Linked DNA regions of Homo sapiens: regions 1 and 3 are each linked to region 2. Evidence: promoter capture Hi-C in 16 types of primary human blood cells and fetal thymus (Javierre and others, 2016). All regions are on one chromosome and are shown on one strand. The core of a region is centred on a gene start or on the middle of the fragment in contact, and the rest is flanking DNA. Distances in the headings are between cores, read along the strand shown. Region 1 overlaps CYFIP2 (cytoplasmic FMR1 interacting protein 2). Region 2 holds the start of ADAM19 (ADAM metallopeptidase domain 19). Region 3 has its middle 3.3 kb from the start of CYFIP2.

Region 1 (3,521 bases), core at 600-3,099, 260 kb after region 2:
TGGTGTCCCAGGAACACCCACATTTGAATTCTTGGGGTGCTTGTAAAGCATGCTCATTTCTGCCCCAATTCCAAAACTCTGGTTTAACAGATTTAAGGTACAGTCCAGGAATCTGTGTTTAAACAAGTGTCCTACATGGTTCTGATGTCCAAGGGATGTCTGAGAACTCAGCTCTGAGCCCATCGAGTGAGACAGAACTTGTGTGAGGCAAGAGGTCTGTATTTCCTTTCTGGTTATAGGGGAGTCTCACCGGTCTTATGAAATCTGTGTGTGCTTAGTTTTCATAATAGCTTAGATGTGCTGCATACTTACTCCATGCTGCATGTGCTTAGGTCTATATATGGACCATCTCATTTCATCATCCCAACAGGCAGCAGGTAGCATTATAATCCCCATTTTACAAATGAGGAAAACTGAGGTTTGGAGAAGGTCAGCAACCTGACCAAGTTCACACAGCTAGATAGCAGTGGATATGGACTTCTAGAGATGAAGGCTTAATTCATCCCAAATGCCCAATCTCCTAAAGAGCCCTCTGGAGCTTGCTGGAAGGACCCATGTGTGTTCAGTGGCTGAGCCAGGACATCCTCTCTGATGGGTACCTGGCATGCTTATGTCTGATATGCTCCTGAAGGCATCTGAAAACCCACCTGATGAGGACATTCTTCTTCTTCCGTACCGCCTGCCGCAGGGGCTCACGCAGCGTCACCTGGGCGAAGTCCTGCAATGCCGCGTAGATGGTGTTCCTGATGGCCTGGTTGAAGACGCTCTCCATCCTGCCCATGAGCACCTGCAGGCCTTTGATCATGGCGATCACCTGGGCAGGAAGAGGCCAAGGGTCATGTTCACCATGTCCAGCACACCAGCTGTCTACTACCCATCACCGCCCTGCCAGGGGAGGCGGGGAGTGAGATGTCCAGAGGCATGAGGCCAGTGCTACTCAAAGTGCCAGCGCATGGCTAGGTAAGAGATGTGTGCCAGAATGTACGTATATCAGCACTTGGCTTCATTCATTGAGAAAGTCTTGCTACAAAACACAAATGTCAGCTCAACTAACAGCATTCTTCGCAATGCAACTGATTTTCATCCTCGCATGAGCTCCCAATTTTGTTGTTCACTGCTGACAAATAGCAGCTGGCCCATGGGCCACAATTTGAGCATTTTGAGAAGTGCCTTGGCTTTTGAAGGCCTCTCCATAGACCAGGCACTCACAGACAACATCAAATAGAACTTTTTTAACATAAAATTTTCTAAAGAATTTTTACAACCTTTGTTTTTGAAACCGTTTGGCCAGTTGCTGCTTGAGTTTATAAAATCAAAACTTCTCCTGCAGAAGTCATGGGGGAGAATGCCTCTACTCCCCTATTTCCCTTCTCCTTACCCTAACTCACTTATCTGTTTGGAGAGATGGGGATTCAGGCACGTGTGATGAGAGGAGCCTGGCCTGACCTTGGCTCGCTCTTTTGGGACCTGCCTGCCTGCAAGTATGTGGCCTCCCTTCTAGGTTTCTGGCTGCTTCTTGCAGTAACCATCCCCTGCCCATCCCGAGGAAGGGAGGCGTGTATCTATGCAGCTGCTTTGCCTATTACCTAGTGGCAAGTTTAATGAGATGTAGGAGGCATAGGAACACTGGTGTGGCCTTGGGTGAAAACCACATTCTCTAGTCTAGCTTTACCAGCAGTAAGTCTGAGCCTTTGACTCCATTGGCCTCTAATATTAATTTCTCAATTGATTCAGAATTCAGAGGGAAAGGCATGTGGCAGATCGTCCACCTCACAACTGCCACACAGATCACACCCATAATGGCATGTTCCACCTTCTACACCAGACTGGAAATACACAGGACAGGGCCCAGCTATGCTGTGCACGCCCAACTGCCAGTGTCTGGGTCCATGGTGGGCAGACACATTTTCTGTTGAAAAGGAACAAATAAATGAATGAATGAGCTCAGACCCTAAGGCTGTTTTTTTCTCTAAAACTTAAAGGAAGAAAAAGAACATTTTTAGATAGAACTGGTATGAAAACAACTCAGGAGGTGATGGTTTTCATTGGCACCAACAGTACAACAATTTTGTTGGTGATGAGCTTTAGTGCAGAGAAATAATGGGAGAGAAGCATTAGAGGACTGTTAGATCATAACAGAATCTGGGCCCCTGGCTACAGATATAACTAGGAGACATTAGGAAAAAGGAAGGAGTAAATAATGAAGATGTCTCAGAATGGCTCCAAATACAGAGGAGTGGGCAGGCCTGTTGGATCTAAAGGAAAAATCTTTACAACTCTAGACAAGGCAAAGATTTCTTAGCTGAAACCCCCAAATCACTAACCACCAAATAACTGACAAATTGGACTTCATCAAAATTAAAAACAGCTGCTCTTCAAAAGGCACCCTTAAAAAATGAAAAGGCAAAGTCACTGATGAGAAAAAATATTTGCGACATATATTTGACTGAAGACTTGTGATCTAAAATATGGAATGAATTCTCACAATTCCATAATAGGAAGACAGAAACCCGATTTTTTAAAAATGGGCAAAAGATCTCAATACTTCACAGAGGAAGATATATGAATGGGATACAGGACAGGACAGAGGTAAAGGGAATTCCCAAGATAATAAATAATGAGGAGAATCTTGGATCAGTGGCGGGGCTGGTCTAGAGACAAACCCATGCAGATTGGAAAGAAGAGAGCTTGTGGAGGAATGCCTCCAAGAAAAAAAGAATAATACCAAAACTCATCAAATGATGACTGTGATGGACTATTTTGTAAGGAGTTTTACATTTTGTTGGTAGGTTTGGGGTTGCCTTTTTGATAGACTCATAGAAAACAAAATAAAAAATACAGTATTGCTAATTCTATGAAGAACAAAAAGTTGTGCAAGAAAATAAATGGATTCACATTAGAGCGTGTGGCTCAGTGATGGACAACAGTTACTTGGTTATAATAATAATAAGGTAACCATTGATTTTTACCAAAAAGTGTAAAATTACCACGATGGGAAGATGGGGGAAGGAAACCAGGTGTGTTGCAGGGATGGGAGGTAGGAAGGAGAGAGCTATATCCTCATTTCCCAAAGTAGAAAATCAATAGAAAATGTCATAAACTGAAAAACCAAGAAATAGTCTCATAAGCCTGTTAGAACTAGGGAGATAAATACCACAAGGAATCGCTTAACAAGTTGAATGGTGTTTCCTATTTGGGGATTCAGAATGGAATAACATGGTACAGGCAGGTTACTACTTTTGCTTTGTTTTATTATTAAAGGCCACATTGAACTACTTTTCTTTTTAATTTTTTTAAACATGTTTTATTAATGAGATAAAAATGATAAAACCTCCCAATGTATAGCAAAGTAATGACTAGATGGAAATAGAGTGACATGTTCTTGGTGGTTGTGCTTGGATGACGATATAAGGTTGTGGGAAGGTGAAGGTAGAAGTGGGTTGCGGGAGCATCTTCTGAATCACTTACAGTGCATACGCATCCCTTTTATTAAGGAAATAAGTGCATAAATAGTTTTATAA
Region 2 (3,613 bases), core at 911-3,410:
CCCTTCCGAGGTTTAAGCGATCTCCTGCCTCAGCCTCCTGAGTAGCTGGGATTACAGGTGTGCCACCACGCCTGGCTAATTTTTTTTGTATTTTTAGTAGAGACAGGGTTTCGCCACATTGGTCAGACTGGTCTCGAATTCCTGACCTCAGGTGATCTGCCCGCCTTGGCCTCCCAAAGTGCTGGGATTACAGGCCTAAGCCACAATGCCAGGCCACCATCCTATTCTTAAATAAGATAGCTACAAAGAGAAACAGCTACATACCTTCCTCACAATTTTCACACAAGGAAATTCCTTGTGGACAAAGGACAGACAGAATTTAAAGCCATCCCTCTGAGGCTCACCGGAAACAAATGCATATCTGATTGCTTCTTCTGCCCTATTGTTTATGTAAAAATGTAGATTCACTGAGCTAGACTAAATTGTGTATTCAGTGGAAGGTTGATCAAGGACTCAAAAGAATGTAACCTCTTCTGTTTCTTATCTACTTATAACCTGGAAGCACCACCCTTTCTGCAGCTTGGAGTTGTCTTGCCTTACCGGACCGGAAGCAATGTACATCCTACACATATTGATTGATGTCTCATGTCTCCCCAAAATATATAAAAGGAGGCTACACCCCCACCACCCTGGGCACATGTTGGGACCTCCTGAGGCTGTGTCATGAGCACGTTCTTAAGCTTGGCAAAATTAACCTTCTAAATTGACTGAGACCTATCTCAGATATTTCGGGTTCACAGAAAGATACGAATTTTACAGCAGCTGGAGACTAACGGAGTCCCAAACGACATTAATGGCCAGAACCACTTATTTGATTTCCCTCATGGGTGCCCATGAGTAGGGTTTGATAGACCTACCTACCCATCATCTTCAGGAGTGCCTCGCCCTCTCCAACACTTAGCACTTCTCTAGTCAACCTGGGTTTGACTAAAGAGGCTCAGAAAAAGGAACAGATGGACGAGGTTTGAGGCTGGGATTCTACAACGAGGCTTTGCTAAAACTTGCTGAGGGATCTTAGGCAAGTCATTTCTCTCTCATTATCAGTTTCTCCACCTGGAAAATAAGGTGTGTTGCATCAGGCTCTGGAGTTATACGGATGTGGGTTTGAATCTAGGCACTGACATTAGCTGTGTAATCTTGGGCAAGTGGTTTAGCCTCTCAGGTTTGATTTCCTCATTTCTAAAACAGGGATAGTACTAGTACCTACCCCATGGGATTACTGGGCTAATGAAAAGAGATAATGTATGCAGAGTCCCTGGCTCATAAAAGTTATTTTCTCCGATTAATTAAATAAGTGAATATGTGTAAAGTGCTGAAGACAGCGTTTGACACTTAGCGTTTTATCAGTCTTAGCTATCATGATTTTCTTATTCTAGTACATAGAAAGTCCTCAATAAGTAACAGTAGTTATTATTATTTTTGGTCACATGTCCCTGTGTTTCCCTCCAAAACCCTAACCATCCCCAATTCTGGTTTTCTCCCCGCATGCAGCCCAAGGGTTTTCACGTCCCAGTGCGATTGTCTGGGCTGTTTCCTCCGCCTGATGTTCCATTTCTCCTCCTCCCGATCTCAGATGGCTTCTCCTCTGGGATTCCTCTGGTCTTCATCACTCCCTCCTCCCAGGCAGAAGGAATGGCTCCTGGATTTGTGTCCTGCTTAAAAAAAAAAAAAAAAAAAAAAAAAAAAAAAAAAAAAGAAGTCCATATAGCACTTAGTTCTTTGTGCCTGGCGGTTGGGTTAACTCTTTCTGAGCCTGTCTCCGAGAGTGGCGGCCCCCGGGGGACGGCGCTGGGTGAATCACCTCTGAGTGTCACCCAAGGCGTCTGGCACAGTGCGGGACAGTAAACGGGCCGCTGTGCGGAGAGGGGTCCAGTTTAACTCCTAGAAGCCCGAGTCCCCGACCCTCTACAGGCCGCGTCCACCACAAATCCCTCCTCCTGGGGGGCTCGGATTCTCCCTTCCCCGCGGTCTCCCTCACCTGAGCCAGCCCCGCTCCCCCGAGTCTCGCCAGCTCCTCCCCGGCCCCTCCCTCCAGCCCCCTCCGGGCTGGAGCCTCCCCTCCTCCATCCCCTGGCGGAGGCCCGCGGGGCTGGAGGCGGAGCGTCTCGGCAGAGGGCTGGGAGCCGGGTGGGGAGGCGCGGGGCGAGCCGGGGGGTTCCAGACGCGCCTCCACCGCCGGGCAGTGGGCAGGTATGGCTGAGGGCGTGTGAGCGCCGAGCGCTAAGGGCCGCCGCCACCATGCCAGGGGGCGCAGGCGCCGCCCGGCTCTGCTTGCTGGCGTTTGCCCTGCAGCCCCTCCGGCCGCGGGCGGCGCGGGAGCCTGGATGGACAAGTAAGTGGCCAGGCGCGGGGGGATGGAGGCTGGGTGGCCCGGAGACCTGGGAGTAGCCTTGCGGGTCCGGAGCGCTGGGACCGCGACCCCTGCGCCTCCCGCAACTCCGCGGGGCCTGCGCCCCCGCCGTCCCCAGCCTGGGAGCCCGGGCTTTGTTCCCACGTTCTGCGCCCTGGGAGGTGGCAGAGGTCGGGGAAACCCGGCGCAGCCAGAAAACAGCCGGTCCGCTCACTGGCTAGCCTTCCCTTCTCGCCTTCTCCTTCCTCTGTTTTTCTGCTTTTGGCTTCTCTTTCCGCCGTTCTCGGGGCTTATCCTCCTCCGTTTTCTCACGGTCCCTCGTGTCCGCTCCGCCTCTCTCTCTGTCTTTCTCTCTACCGCCCGCTGCACTCGCCAACGCCGAGCATCCCGAGCGCCCTGCCCGTGTGGCCTGGGAGCGGCTTCCTGGGACCAGGCTCGGTGCCTGCCACACTGGTGGGGTAGGACATAAAATGCCCGCGGCAGACTGTGGTAGCCTTGGCTAGGGGATGGCTCGCTGGGTATCTGCAGCCACACACTTCGGATCCCCGAGCTGGCAGGAGCCCTACTGAAGGCCAAGTCAAACGCACCCATTTCACAGATGGGGAAACCGAGGCCCACAAAAGGGAAAGGACTTGCCCAAGGCCACGCCACGGGTTGAGGTCCGCGGTGGCACTGGAAACCAGGGCTCTCTTTCCACGCCAACCCGACGGCCGCCTTCTTTGGTCCTCAGTTTCCCCTTCTGTGAAGCGAAGGGGTCTGACTCGATGTTTCCAGCTAAGATGCCGGGTGATGTCCGTGTTTCTCAGGACTAGTTTCCCAGACACCAATCCCCTCCCCGGCTCCATCCCTCGGGGGCTATAAGCAGATTTCGCGGAAGGCTTGGTCCCGGGGGGCGGTGCCCGGGTTCTCTCATTATGACCGGAGAAGGCTTAGCCCTGGCTCCACCGCTGCAGACGGGCTGGGCTGACTCCAGACTGCTGCTTGGGGGACCAACAGTCAGCGTTTTCAAATAGAGCGAGCACCGGCGGAGCGAGGGTGGGCTGGCTGGACCCCCGGGCCGCCTCAAACCCAGAGGCTGAGAGCTCTTCCGACAGTTCGGAACTTCCAGGGGCCGAGGTCGGGCGGTCCTCCCAAAGGGCTCAAAGGAACCGCCCTTTGAGCTGTTGTTCCGAAGGGGAAACTGAGGCACAGAGGAGGTTCTAGGGTAGCACCAGGCCTGTGTCAGTGCTTAGTGCAGGAGAAAAGCATGAAGAAAGACAAGGA
Region 3 (3,762 bases), core at 28-2,527, 310 kb after region 2:
GGAGTGTATGTAGATATAAGGAGTGGTTTCCTAAGGCCCACAAATTTATACTTAATCACTCAGCTGTTCCTAATAAGGGCAATTTGTGGAGGAGCCCCGTTATTCAAGCTCCAGCAAAGGACTTGTGGAAGCCTTTGCTTTCCTTTACTGATCTCACCTTATTTCCCACGTGCTCAGAATCCATAATTCCTTGTGGTTTGATCTTAAATCGCTAATTCCAATTCAAATTGCTATTTCGGAAAAAAATGACTTATATATATATATATATACACACACATACATTTCTTCCCTGGTTCAGTGTGAAAAGCTGTGGGGGTGTTTGTGGAGGATGGGTTTAAAAACAGAACTGAGGTTTCCTTTTTAAAAAATGTTTCATTTTCCACCGTGATCCTTGGGATTTCAAGTTCAGTGATTACAAATACTTAACAATGAGAATCCCAATAAATCAGATTTTCATTCTAAGGGGCATATTATTGCAGATGGTATAGTTTTTTGGAAGACGTATTTCTCCCTGTTGTTCCTTCCCTGTCTTTTCACCTTCAGGAACAAGTTGCCTAAAAACAGAAAAGACTATTACATATATATTTGGTTAGATCTTAGGCAAAAATAACTCCGACCTCTGAGTTCTATTTGTGTATAAAGGAGAGCAGTATGGTCTTTTGAAGCCACTGTGTTGGAAATCCAGAGGCTTGCCTTTTGGTTCTAGTTTTGCAACTAACAGAAGAATGATCTTAGGCAAGGAGCCTCACCCCTGTTTCCTCACCTGTTAAGTGAAGTAAGTTGGATGCTCTCCAACTTCCCTCTGAATGTGGAAAATTACATGAGTTAAAGGGCACGTCCCTCCCAGGCTTAAGGCACTTCCCTAGCTCCCCACTGCCCCCCGATGAAGCCCAAACTCTCCAGTGGCCGGAGAGGGTCTTTAAGAGCTGGCAGCTATCTCTCCATGTGAACAAGCTTGCTGTGCTTCAGCTAAAAGGAACAGCTTTTAGTTCCTCAAACTTGCTGTGTTCTCTGTTGTGCTCGACATTCGTACATGCAAGGCTTCTTCAATGGCAGTTTCTGTCCCCCCATTCCCTCCCTCCACATTCCACACTTTTTCCCAGTTTACCTGATGAAGTTCTGTTCATCTTCCTGGTATTCCTCTAGATGTCGCTTCCTCCAAGATTCCTACATGTCTGGGTTAGCTTGAGATTAGTTGTCTATGTGTCCTTAGCTGCCTGGGCTCCCTCTATCACCCCACGTATTAGTCTGCATTATAATTGTCAACACACTTCCCTGTATTCCACCATGAGACCATAAAATCTAAGGGAGCAGGGATATGTCTGTCTTGCTTTCCCATTGCATCCTTGGAGCCTGGTACTTAACAGGAGTTCAGTAAAAATGGATGGAATGAACACCCATAGGTGACATTTTTAAACTTTGCCACTGAAATGTATAGCTGTCTGTCTACTGCCTTCAGATTTCCTTCACATCCAACCCCAAGCTGTGCATCAGCAATGAAATGGTAGAGGATATCAATAAGAATTGCTTTGGTACTTGCAAAGCTGTGGCCCACATGTTGTCCATGTGGCAACATTACCTTGTGTTTTAGAAAAGCTTCAAGTTATAATCCCAGCACTTTGGGAGGCCGAGGCAGGTGGATTGCCTGAGGTCAGGAGTTCGAGACCAGCCTGGCCAACATAGTGAAACCCAGTTTCTACTAAAAATACAAAAAATTAGCTGGGCATGGTGGCGAGCGCCTGTAATCCCAGCTACTCAGGAGGGTGAGGCAGAATTGCTTGAACCCGGGAGGTGGAAGTTGTAGTGAGCCGAGATCACACTGTTGCACTCCAGCCTGGGCAACAAGAGCAAAACTCTGTCTCAAAAAAAAAAAAAATATATATATATATATGTATTTTAAAACTATCAGGAGACCCTGCTTTATAGACACCAGTAATGAAGTATCTGGAATGGGCATGAAGGGAAAACATAAATAATGATAATAATAATAATGGCTAACATTTACCAAGTACATTACCTCATTTAATTTTTCGTAATTTTTCTATAAGGAAAATACAATCATTTTTCCCATTTTTATAATTGAGGCAATTAAGGTTTAATAATTTGCCCAAGGTAGTGAAGTCAAACCCATGCTTTTTACCACAATCTCATACAGCCTCACTTTCCCTCTTCCAAGCTAAGTCCATTTGTTTACTAATATGCTACCTTATTCTAAAAACATATTAAATGTAAGTTACAGGAATACATTATGTTAAAAAATTAAAAATCAGCAAGAAATTTTTTAAAAAGAAGGAAAAGAGTAGAGAGATGAGATGGAGAATCGAATGTACATAAGACCAAAATGTAAACAAAACAAAAATCAATCACAGCTCTACCTGCTATGAGCTTGCTAACACATTTGGTTCTAAGTATTTATGTGGGTGGCAGGAAAAGATAAACTTGATGGTCAGTTACAGAATTTACATTGGCCATTCTGTAGATAGAACCTGACCACTTGCTCAAAATTGCCTCATTTTATAGGCAAGAGAATTGCTTGAGCCCAGGAGGTGGAGGTTGCAGTGAGCAAAGATGGTGCGGCTGCATTCCAGCCTGGGCAACAGAGCAAAACACTGTATCAAAACAAAGCAAAACAAAACAAAACAAAAAAGTATATCCCTTAGATTCTTGTGAAGGTTATATGAAATGATAATGTAACACACTAAGCAGAGTCTGGTACATAATAAATGCTCAAAAATGGGATTATTATTATGATTTTCTTTTTGAGACAGAGTCTCACTCTGTCGCCCAGGCTGGAGTGCAGTGGCATGATCTTGGCTCACTGCAACCTCCGCCTCCCAGGTTCAAGTGATTCTCCTGCCTCAGCCTCCCGAGTAGCTGGGATTATGGGCATGTGCCCCTACACCTGGCTAATTTTTGTATTTTTAGTAAAGATGTAGTTTCACCATGTTAGCCAGGCTGGTCTCGAACTCCTGATCTCAGGTGATCCTCCCGTCTCGGCCTCCCAAAGTGCCAGGATTACAGGTGTGTGCCACCACGCCTGGCCTGTGGCCATCTCTTGTTGCTATTGTGGTGAACTCAAGTGTTGCCAGTATCCACTTCAAGTGCTGTGTGATGCTAATCATCTCTGAGTGAGCAATTCATCTCTCATGATGAAACATTTTTCATCATGTTTAGTGTAATACAGCAAACCTTGAATAACACCATGGAACCCACATGAAGTGACACTAGTGATGCTGAAAGTGTTCCCAAAAAGCAGAGAAAAGTCATAACATTACAAGAAAAAAGCTGAATTTTCTTGATATGTACCATAGATTGAGGTCTGCAGCTGCAGTTGTCCATCATTTTAAGATGAATGAATTTAGCATAAGGACCACTGTAAAAAGAAAGAAAGAAAGAGAAAGAGAGAAAGAAGGAAAGAAAATTCATGAAGCCGTAGCTGCGGCTCCCAGCAGGTATGAAAACCTTGCACTTTTTGTTAAATACCATTTTAGCTCATATTGAAAATGCAGGTTTTAGGTGGGTGCGTTGCTATAAAGATTGCTATAAGAAAGACGTACCCATAGACTCTAATATAAGTCAGGAAAAAGTGAAGTCATTATATGACAATTTAAAGCAAAAGAAAGGTGAAGGATCTAAAGCTGAAGAATTTAATGCCAGCAAAGATGGTTTGATAATTTTAGAAAGAGGTTTGGCTTAAAAAATGTCACGATAACAGGAGAAGCAGCTTCTGCTGACCAAGAGATAGCAGACAAGTTATCAGAT

What was found. Contacts are between HindIII fragments. The CHiCAGO score rates a contact against its expected background, and 5 or more counts as called.
Region 1: a fragment that was not itself captured here is called in contact with the fragment with the promoter of ADAM19 in region 2 in 2 of 17 cell types (neutrophils and activated CD4 T cells); the score reaches 6.8 in neutrophils.
Region 3: a contact is called between a fragment that was not itself captured here and the fragment with the promoter of ADAM19 in region 2, in 1 of 17 cell types (neutrophils). The highest score is 5.9, in neutrophils.

What each region holds. Positions count from the first base shown.
Region 1 is chr5:157,317,055-157,320,575 of GRCh38, reverse strand. CYFIP2 (cytoplasmic FMR1 interacting protein 2) reads right to left here. Exons shown (of 31, transcript NM_001037333.3): 14 at 648-814. Among named protein-coding and RNA genes, the nearest start is that of FNDC9, 27 kb to the left of the region's middle. The HindIII fragment of the contact is 3,732 bases long and covers 1-3,521 here.
Region 2 is chr5:157,574,322-157,577,934 of GRCh38, reverse strand. It overlaps ADAM19 (ADAM metallopeptidase domain 19), which reads left to right and starts at 2,160. Exons shown (of 23, transcript NM_033274.5): 1 at 2,160-2,332. The coding sequence starts at 2,239. It overlaps LOC124901121 (a long non-coding RNA gene), which reads right to left and starts at 2,956. Exons shown (of 2, transcript XR_007059018.1): 1 at 2,565-2,956; 2 at 1,325-1,655. RefSeq lists enhancers at 1-145, 146-761, 2,619-2,698, 2,935-3,464 and a silencer at 2,009-2,448. The HindIII fragment of the contact is 8,826 bases long and covers 683-3,613 here.
Region 3 is chr5:157,260,907-157,264,668 of GRCh38, reverse strand. No RefSeq gene overlaps it. Among named protein-coding and RNA genes, the nearest start is that of CYFIP2, 3.3 kb to the left of the region's middle. The HindIII fragment of the contact is 642 bases long and covers 957-1,598 here.